3 separate regions of the Homo sapiens genome follow, and all the other regions are linked to region 1. Evidence: promoter capture Hi-C in human tissues and cell types (Jung and others, 2019). All regions are on one chromosome and are shown on one strand. The core of a region is centred on a gene start or on the middle of the fragment in contact, and the rest is flanking DNA. Distances in the headings are between cores, read along the strand shown. Region 1 holds the start of SH2D3A (SH2 domain containing 3A). Region 2 holds the start of ACSBG2 (acyl-CoA synthetase bubblegum family member 2). Region 3 holds the start of CAPS (calcyphosine).

What was found. The method cuts DNA at HindIII sites, captures the fragments that hold promoters and counts their contacts. A contact is called where the count stands out against the background at its distance.
Region 2: a contact is called between the fragment with the promoter of ACSBG2 here and the fragment with the promoter of SH2D3A in region 1, in 1 of the 25 tissues and cell types used here (lymphoblastoid cells).
Region 3: a contact is called between the fragment with the promoter of CAPS here and the fragment with the promoter of SH2D3A in region 1, in 1 of the 25 tissues and cell types used here (lymphoblastoid cells).

What each region holds. Positions count from the first base shown.
Region 1 is chr19:6,766,181-6,769,331 of GRCh38, reverse strand. SH2D3A (SH2 domain containing 3A) reads left to right here and starts at 1,897. Exons shown (of 10, transcript NM_005490.3): 1 at 1,897-1,945. RefSeq lists a silencer at 1,359-1,418. The HindIII fragment of the contact is 38,619 bases long and covers 1-3,151 here.
Region 2 is chr19:6,134,413-6,137,483 of GRCh38, reverse strand. It overlaps ACSBG2 (acyl-CoA synthetase bubblegum family member 2), which reads right to left and starts at 1,817. Exons shown (of 15, transcript NM_030924.5): 1 at 1,575-1,817. The region is part of intron 3 of LOC105372255 (a long non-coding RNA gene); the gene reads left to right. RefSeq lists enhancers at 1,047-1,949, 1,950-2,853. The HindIII fragment of the contact is 13,898 bases long and covers 209-3,071 here.
Region 3 is chr19:5,912,232-5,915,597 of GRCh38, reverse strand. It overlaps CAPS (calcyphosine), which reads right to left and starts at 1,344. Exons shown (of 5, transcript NM_004058.5): 1 at 1,289-1,344; 2 at 1,109-1,213; 3 at 858-1,035; 4 at 452-658; 5 at 1-377. The coding sequence starts at 1,191. The coding sequence ends at 276. The HindIII fragment of the contact is 10,666 bases long and covers 1-3,366 here.

The sequences.
Region 1 (3,151 bases), core at 648-3,147:
AGCCCAGTCTGGAAATTCCCTGCTTTGCAACCTACAGGCATCAAAACTTTTCATCCCCAAGCATCGTTGGCCCTCTAGGCCTCAATTTCCTCATCTGTAAAATGGTGGGTGAGTAACTTTCACCGCAAAGCAGCATCGTGGAGAAAGTGGGCATGCGAAGATTGAAAAGGAGGCAGACAGGATAAAGCTCCAGAGCTCCGGGTTTGAATTTCGCCTCTACCACTTACAAGCCAGGTTAACTTGGGCAAATGGTTTAGTTGCCCTGTGCCTCAGTTTCTCCATCTGGAAAATGGAAGTGATGAAAATACTACCTACCACCCTTACAGGGTGGTCTGTTTGAAAATTAAAATAGAGGCCTCATGCCTGTAACCCCAGCACTTTGGGAGGCCGAGGCAGGTGGATCACATGAGGTCAGGAGTTTGAGACCAGTCTGGCCGAGACCCCATCTCTACTAAAAATACAAAAATTAGCCTGTAATCCCAGCTACTCGGGAGTCTACAGCCGGAGAATCGCTTGAACCGGGGAGGTGGAGGTTGCAGTGAGCTGAGACTGCTGCCACTGCACTCCAGTCTGGGCAACGAGAGTGAAACTCCATCTCAAAAAATAAAATAAAATAAAATAAAGGCAAGTTGACAGAACAGCCCTTGTGTACAGTAAGTGCTCAATAAATGTTAGCTGCTGCTACTGCTTTTAAGACTGTGGTTACTGGGGCCAAGCACAGTGGTTCATGCTTGCTTGTAATCTCAGCGCTCTGGGAGGCCAAGGCAGGAAGTTCGCATGAGCCCAGGAGTTCCAGAGCCTGGGCAGCATAGTAAGACGCCACATCTACAAAAAATAAAATAAAATCAGCTGGGTGTGGTGGTGTGCACCTTTAGTCTCAGCTGCTTGGAAGGCTGAAGCGGGAGGATAGCTTAAGCCCAGGAGGTTGAGGCTACAGTGAGCTATGATCACCACTGCACTCCGGCCTGGGCAATATAGCAAGACCCTGTCTCTACAAGACAAGACTGATGTTAATATGAGGAACTCATCAATAAACGTGGCCAAAGAGTCCTCTCTCTTGCACTAGGTCCCTGTCACCTTTTCTCTTGTTCGTCTCCAGGCATCACGATGGAAGTCCCCCCCACCCTTCTTCCCACCTGGGAAACCACCTGAATGATTTGCCTTCCACCTCCACCAAAGTCCCGCCCCGCTCCAGCGTGCTGTCACTGAAGGAAGCTGTCGCGTTTTCCCGGACGTCTCTCCACAAAACCCGCCACCTAAATGGGGCTTCTTTCCGGAAAATCCGGGAGGGCGGTCTGGAGGAAGCGTACCCCTCCTTACGTCACAGCTGCCGCAGCTACCCCAGCCTGGCGTAAGAGCCCGAGGGAGTTGCCCTGCCCTGACCCGGAGCCTTGGCGGGGAGGGGAGAGAGGCACCCCACTCCACCCCGCCCTGGTCCCAAAGGGCCATGGGTGCTTGGGGCCGCCTGGGTGGAAGGGAGGGGCAGGGTTCTAAGGGGCGGGAACGTTGGGATGAAATTTCTTCTATTGCCCTAAGGGGCGGGGCTGAGAAGGAGGTGGCTGCGGGTGGGCGTAGTCATTCGGCGGTGGTCGTGGCTATATACAAGGGGAGGGGCCACTGGCAGGAAAGGATGCGTGGTGCTCCCCTAGTGGGCGGGGTCTATGGAGAAAGCGGTGCGATGCAGAAGGAGGCGTGGCTAGTAGCAAAAAAAATGGTTTTAAGGGGGCGGAGCAAGGGCCTGGGAAGTTAGTTTGAGGCGGGGCCCGCAGGGGGCGGGGTCTGCAGGAGGTGTGGTCAGGTAACTGGGCTGAGTTCCCACTAGGTGTGGTCTGGGAAGGCTGGGGCGGTGGCAAGGTGGAGGGCGGGGGTGACAGCAGCCCGGAGCCGCGGAGCCTCAGCTTCCGCCTGGACCCAGCCTCGTGGGAGCCCCGCGGGTCCTGCCCAGGTGAGTGGAGCCCCAGGGCAGATCCAGAACCAGGATTATTGGGATGGGGAGTCCTCTCTTTCCAGGTGGGGTCACCGGCTCGCAGGGAGGATCTGGGGTAGAAGAGGTCGCCTCGCGAATGAGAGGGTCGCTGTGCGTTACGCGTGTCGGTGTGCTCGGGCTCACCTGGGCGTGCCTCTCTAAGTGTATTTCCTGTGCAGCACAGAAAGCCATTGTTTCCATTTTTGCCTGAGTGATCCTCTTAAACGGCGAATCAGATCGGGCCCCTCCTTCACTTAAAACCCTTGGGTCATAGAGATTAAAATTCAAAGTCCACTAGTTTTTGCCTAGTCTCTCCTCCTGATCTCTCCAACCTCATTGCCCTCCTATCTACTCCTTCCTCATCGTATTCCGGCTACACCAGCCGCCTTGATGATGTAAAATGTAAAAAGCAAGTCCATCTCAGCTCCAGGCCTTTACCCTTACTGTACCCCTCACCCAGGCGACTCCTCCAAATCTTTGCCTAACTGCCTCCTTCTGTACTGAGGTCTCAGTTCCAATGTCACTTTATAGGAGAGGCTGTCCTGTCCAGCCTCCTCTATCACATCTCCCTGGCTTATCACTTTCATTGATAACTCTTAGAAATGGTCTGTCTTCTCCATTCATCTTGTGCTCGTTTGCAGTCTGTCTTGCGCAGCCGACTGCAAGCTCTGGAGGGCAGGGTGGTGCCGAGCTTTAATCTCCTTAGTCACTGTATCTCTAGGTCCTAGAACAGAGCCTGGTGCACAGCAAGTGCTCCAGCAATGGTCGTCCAACGTCAAAAGCGAGTCCTGCCTACATCTGTGTTTGTGTTGCCTGTGCTGGTGGTTCCCACCCTCCACGTCCTCCCCACACGTGGACACATGTTTATGATCCAACTGGAACATGAATAATCCCCTCTCTCCTCTCTCTATGCTTGGTCTGATTCCTGATTCTGCCCGTTTCTTCTCTTCCGTGCCCGAATAAATGATCCCAAAGGACTCAGAGGCAGGAGATGGCTTAGTTGGCCTTTGGCTGACCTATGGCCACCCTGTGTCCTCAAACTAACCAGAACCTTGCCATTGACTCAACTTCACTCTCACTAAGGGAGACACAAGACAGGAACTTGGGGTTGGGAAACTCTGCGACCGAGGCTAGCCCTGGTCCAGGTGACAAACAGGAAGTGCGCAGGCATTGCAAAGACACACC
Region 2 (3,071 bases), core at 568-3,067, 630 kb after region 1:
TCCTTCCTCCCTCCCCCTCCTCACTCTGCTGCAGCCACGTGGGCCTCCTCACTGTTCTTCCAACTCACCAGGTGCAGTCCTTCCTTGGGGCCTTCGTACGGGCTGTGCCCTCTGCCTGGAACTCTCTTCCCCTCAGATAGCTGGGACTACAGAAGCATGCCACTACGCCTGGCTAATTTATTTTTATTTTTATTTTTGTAGAGCTGGGGGCCTCGCTATATTGCCCAGGCCGGTCTTGAACTCCTGGCCTCAAGCAAGCCCCCCCCCCCCCCCCAACCCCGCCACCTCGGCCTCCCAAAGTGCTGGGATTTGCAGGTGTGAGCCACCACACCAGGCCCCTCTTTTCTTTATAAATTGCCCATCTTCAGGTATTACTTTATGGCAATGCAAAATGGGCAAATAAAATTAGTATCCGGAGTATGAAAAGAACTCTGGATTTAAAAGACAAATGTAAACAACCCAGTGTTTTATGATGAAAAATGTAAACAGGCAGTTCACAAAAAAGGAGCCTGGAAAGGGCTACAAATCCTGGACAAGATGCTCAGTAGCTTTGGTCATCAGGGAACTGCACGTTAAAAATCACACGATCGGCCGGGTGCGGAGGCTCACACCTGTGATCCCAGCACTTTGGGAGGCCGTGGCAGGTGGATCACTTGAGCTCAGGAGTTCTCTACAGAGGACTTGTAAGTTACTAGTAATATTCGATTTCACGAAGTGAAAAGGGCACACAGATATTTATCGTTATTCATTAAATCGTACAGATATGCTTTGTGTTATTTTATATGCATTATATGTTTCACAATTTTAAAAGGCCATGTAGGGTTCAGATGTGGTGACTCACACCTGTAATCCCAGCACTTTGGGAGGCTGAGTCGGGTGGATCGCTTGAGGCCAGGAGTTCGAGACCAGCCTGGCTGGCATGGTGAAACCCCATCTCTACTAAAAATACAAAAATTAGCTGGGCATGGTGGCGCGTGCCTATAATCCCAGCACTTTGAGAGGTCGAGGCGGGTGGATCACCTGAGGTCAGAAGTTCAAGACCAGCCTGGCTGGTATGGCGAAACCCCATCTCTACTAAAAATATAAAAATTAGGCCGAGTATGGCGGCTCACGCCTGTAATCCCAGCACTTTGGGAGGCCAAGGCGGGTGGATCACGAGGTCAGGAGATTGAGACTATCCTGGCTAATGTGGTGAAACCCCATCTCTACTAAAAAATACAAAAAATTAGCCGGGCATGGTGGCAGGCACCTGTAGTCCCAGCTACTCAGGAGGCTGAGGCAGGAGAATGGTGTGAACCTGGGAGGCGAAGCTTGCAGTGAGCCGAGATTGCGCCTGGGCAACAGAGCAAGACTCTGTCTCAAAAAAAAAAAAAAAATTAGCTGGACATGGTGGCAGGCGCCTGTAATCTCAGCTACTTGGGAGGTTGAGGTGGGAGTATCACTTGAGCCTGGGAGGCAGAGGTTGCAGTGAGCTGAGATCGTGCCACTGCACTATAGCCTGGGCAAAAGAGTGAGACCCTGTCTCAAAAAAAAAAGAAAAGAAAACGCATGCCCTTCTCCCATACCACTGGCACCTGTCACTCTTCAAGAGGTGTGGTTCTGGCCATCTGGCAAGGCACCTGGAGCTGGGACATCTGGTCACTCAGGTGTTTTCTTCTTCCTGCAAAGACAGTCAACAGGTAGCCCCTCCTGGAAACCTGAACATGAGCTGCCCCTTCCCAGCCCCCGTCACCCTCTCCGTCCAGCCAGGATGATGGTGGTGGTGGGAGGCAGGAGGATGGGTGGTTTCCCTCCACAACAGGCCTTCTACCCCATTCAACCTTCCAGAACGTTCCATCCCAGCCACCTCTTGTGACATCACTGGCTGCCCCTGCCTCCGCACCCCACCCCCACCCCTAGGGGAAGCTGCTTCCAGGACAGGGAGATTGCTCTTTTCATGCATCATTCATTTATTCATGCATGCATGCACTTCTGCGTTGCATTCGTGACGTTTTTATGAAGCCATGACCCTAATGGCAGGGATTGTGCTGGATGCTGGAGACATAAAGATGAACAAAGCCAGATGAGGCCTGTTCAAGAAAATAAGAGGAGGCCTAGAATCACACAAACAAATGCAAACTTACCATTGTGAAGAGAGCCCCAAGGCATGTTGAGGGCTTGATCAAAGGATCCCGCCCAGGCAGGGAGTCTGGGAGTGGTTTCTTTCTTTTCTTTCGTTTTTTGAGACGGGAGTCTTGCTCTGTCACCCAGGCTGGAGTGCAATGGTGCGATCTCAGTTCACTGCAACGTCTGCCTCCCAGGTTCAAGCGATTCTCCTGCCTCAGCCTCCCGAGTAGCTGGGATTACAGGCGCCCGCCACCACGCCCGGCTAATCTTTTGTATTTTTAGTACAGACGGGGTTTCGCCATGTTGGCCAGGCTGGTCTCAAACTCCTGACCTTGTGATCCGCCCGCCTTGGCCTCCCAAAGTGCTGAGATGACAGGCGTGAGCCACCGCGCCTGGCCTGGGAGTGGTTTCTTGAGCTGGGATCTGAAGTATGCCTGGATGTTATTCCTGCCCTCGTGACTTTCTCTTACGCTGCCTGTCTTCATGTGTTTACAGCGGCCTCCCCCTTCTCGTTCTCTGCTTTAGTCACTGCTAACAATGTCCACTACCAGGCACAGTGGCTTGTGCCTGGAATCCCAGCACTTTGGGAGGCCAAGTCCGTAGCATCACTTGAGGCCAGGAGTTCAAAACCAGCCTGGGCAATGTAGTAAGACCCCGTCTCTACAGAAAAATTTAAAAAATTAGCCGGGCGTGGTGGTGCGCAAGTGTAACCACAGCTAGTAGGGAGGCTGAGGTGGGGGGATTGTTTGAGCCCAGGAGTTCCAGGCTGCAGTGAGCTGTGATGGTACCATGGCACTCCAGCCAGGCCTACAGAGCAAGACCTTGTCTCAAAACAAAAAAGACAAAACAGTGCCAGGTGCAGCACATACTAGATGCTCAGTAAATAAAGATGTAGCAACAGAATCTTGTGCTGTGCCAGGAGAAAAGGACAAGGAGTGTTCCTTTGTCTCCAGGGCCTTTTGTGT
Region 3 (3,366 bases), core at 95-2,594, 850 kb after region 1:
CAGGGGCTGCAAGATCTCTGGTCAGCATGGCGTGGGTGGGGAGAGCGTTTCTCCCTGGGGTCCTGAGCCAGTGACTCCTGTTAGGACCTTTGTCCCACCTCCGCCTGGTGGACCGGCAGGGACCTGGTCTAGCCAGTCCTGCAGCCTCCATTCCCCCACCTGCCCCTCCCCGCTCTGTGGTGTGGCTGCCCAGGAGAGAAGGGGCCCAGGGAAGGGAGGTCTCCGGCAGGGGTGGGGAGTGACAGGCCAGGGCAGCAGGGCTGAGCCGGAGCTGCTCACAGCTGCCAGGCACTGGTCATCATGGCCACGAACTCCTCATCCGTGTTCATGGAGGCACTCACGCCGCTGTAGTAGTCCTGGAATTCCGCCAGTGTGACCTGGGAACAGAGGGCCGTGAGGGGGCACGGCCGAGGAACTGCCTGGGGAGGGGGCCCCCCGCGCAGCCACCCACCTGCCCGTCCTTCTCAGAGGAGTCGAAGTTGTCCAGGAAGCGGCGCAGCACCTCGTCCTCGGTCCACTCCCCACTGCGCACCTTGGGGTGGGCACGGCCACTGTACACCCCGCGGAGGTCGTCCACCGTCACGACGCCGTCCCCACTGCGGTCCAGCTTGGCAAATGCAGCTGCGATGACAGCCTCCCGGGCCTGGGACATGGGGGGCTGGGACAGGAGGTGGTGACTGGGGGTGGTGGGTAGCACACCCAAACCCCCAAGACGCTGTGCAGAGCACTGGGGCTGTATGCCCCAGCAGGCGCCTCTTAACAGCAGCTCTTAGGGAGGAGTCCCCGTCTCCGCATCTCAGCATCCTCTGTCGCCCCATGCCCAGGGCACACGCCTTGACTGTGAGGTGGGGGCTCACCCGCAGCGCCCGAAGGAACTCCTCCAGATCCAGCGTCCCGCTGCCATTGCGGTCCCACTTCCTGCACACACCCTCTGCCTCCGCCTGGTCCAGCACCAGCCCGAGTTTGGCCAGACCCTGCCGGAACTCATCAGCGTCCAGGGATCTGCTCCCGTCCCGGTCTAGTTGGCGGAAAAACCTGGAGGCAGGGGACACGGTTGGAACAGTGGTCTCAGGGGCCGGGGTCAGGAAGGTGAGAGGGGACAGCTCACCTGGCCAGGCCCTGGATGCCCGAGGCCCCGCGGGACAGGCACTGTGCCCGGAGTTTCTCCATGGTGGCATCCACGGCGTCCATGCTTGGTCTGGGCTCTGGGCAGCTGGAAGGGAGAGAGGTCAAGGTGGGGACTCCCGCAAGCCCACCCTGGCCGACTGCCCCTTGTTCAGATGCTCACCTGGCCTGCGTCTGTCCCAGAGTCCTGCCTGCGGGGCCTTGTGTTAGCTGTGTTGTGCCTGGGGAGACTGTTGCTAGTGGAAGGTGCCTCTGGAGATGGGGTGGGGCCCAGCTGCATGAATGCACTGTGCTGGGCAGTGGGGAGTGGGGGAGGGATGGGTGCGCCCAGCCTGACTGCTTACTCAACTGCCAGCCCCACAGGGCCTGGGACAGAGCCAGATCCCTGTGGCACTGCATCCCTTCCTGGCTCCAAGGAGGAGGGGCAGGCCACTGCCCTGCAGGGGCTGAAATGCCCTGGATGGAGACAAGTCCGTGGCTGGGGAGGCTTGACGCATGATTCCTGTGTGACCCTGGACAGGTCCCTTTCCCTCTCTGGCTTCACAGGGGCTTCTCAGCCCGAGCCAGGGCTGACAAAATTGCTGAGGAATCAAAGTTCAAAAGGGCCCCAGGTTCTGACCGGCCACTGCGGCTCATGCCTGAAATCCCAGCACTTTGGGAGGTCTAGGTGGGAGGATCACTTGAGCCCAGGAGTTTGGACCAGCCTGGGGAACATATAGAGAACTTGTTTCTATTGTACAGCAACAAAAATGCCCCAGGTGGGCTGGGCGCGGTGGCTCATGCCTGTAATCCCAGCACTTTGGGAGGCCGAGGTGGGCAGATCACAAGGTGAGGAGTTTGAGACCAGCCTGACCAACATGGTGAAACCCCGCCTCTACTAAAAATACAAAAATTAGCCGTGCATGATGGTGGGCGCCTGTAATCCGAGCTACTTAGGAAGCTGAGGCAGGAGAATCGCTTGAACCCAGGAGGTGGAGCTTGCAGTGAGCCAAGATTGCACCACTGCACTCCAGTCTGGGCGACAGAGCAAGACTCCATCTCAAAAAGAAAAAAAAAAAAAAAGCCCCAGGTGGCCCAGGTCCTGGGGCCCTAAGACCTCCCACCCAGGCCCACCTCCAAGGGCAGGTCCTGCAACCCACAGAGACTGAGCTGAGCCTGAGGGACACCTCTGCTCACTGCCACAAAGCTTGTCACTGGCCGTTGTTAGGAGCCAGTCCCAGGATTTCTGTCTTTACGGATCTTTTGTTGTTGGTTTTCAGGCCTGAAACGTGACTTAGTGGGCTGGCTCCTGACAAGGTGGTGAGCCAGAGGTTGTGACCCCGAGTGGAAGAGCAGCCCTGATCCTGGACATAAACCTCAAGAGACGAAGCCACCTCACTGAAGGCCTTCAACGGAGACATCGGATATACCTGCCCGCTAAGATAGGTGGGTTTTCCAGGACTTGAAACGTGGGCCCTGTTTGAGGACCCACTGTTCGCCCCGACCCAAGGATCATCAATCGGAGCCTTCTCCAAGCCTGGCTTTACCTCGCTCACAGCACAATTATATTGTCAGAAGTTGCCTTGCCTGAGCGCGGTGGCTCATGCCTGTAATCCCAACACTTTGGGAAGCCAGGGCAGGAAGATCACTTGAGCCCAGGAGTTTGAGACCCGCCTGTGCAACATAGTGAGACCCCCCCATCTCTACAAAAACTACAAAAAATTAGCCAGGCATGGTGGTGTGTTCCTGTAATCCCACCTACTTGGAAGGCTGAGGCAGGAGGATCACTTGAGCCCGGGAGTTGGAGGCTGCAGTGAGCTATGATCGCACCACTGCACTCCAGCCTGGGTTACAGAGCAAGACGCCCGCCTCTTAAAAATAAGTAAATAAACTGGCCGGGCACGGTGGCTCACGCCTGTAATCCCAGCACTTTGGGAGGCCGAGGCGGGCAGATCATGAGGTCAGCAGTTCGAGACCAGCCTGGCCAACATGGTGAAACCCTGTCTCTACTATAAATACAAAAATTAGTCAGCCGGGTGCGGTGGCTCATGCCTGTAATCACAGCACTTTGGGAGGCCGAGGCAGACAGATCACCTGAGGTCAGGAGTTTGAGACCAGCCTGGCCAACATGGTGAAACCCTGTCTCTACTTAAAATACGAAAAACTAGCTGGGCGTGGTGGTATGTGCCTGTAATCCCAGCTACTCGGGAGGCTGAGGCAGGAGAATTGCATGAACCTGGGAAGCGGAGGTTGCAGTGAGCC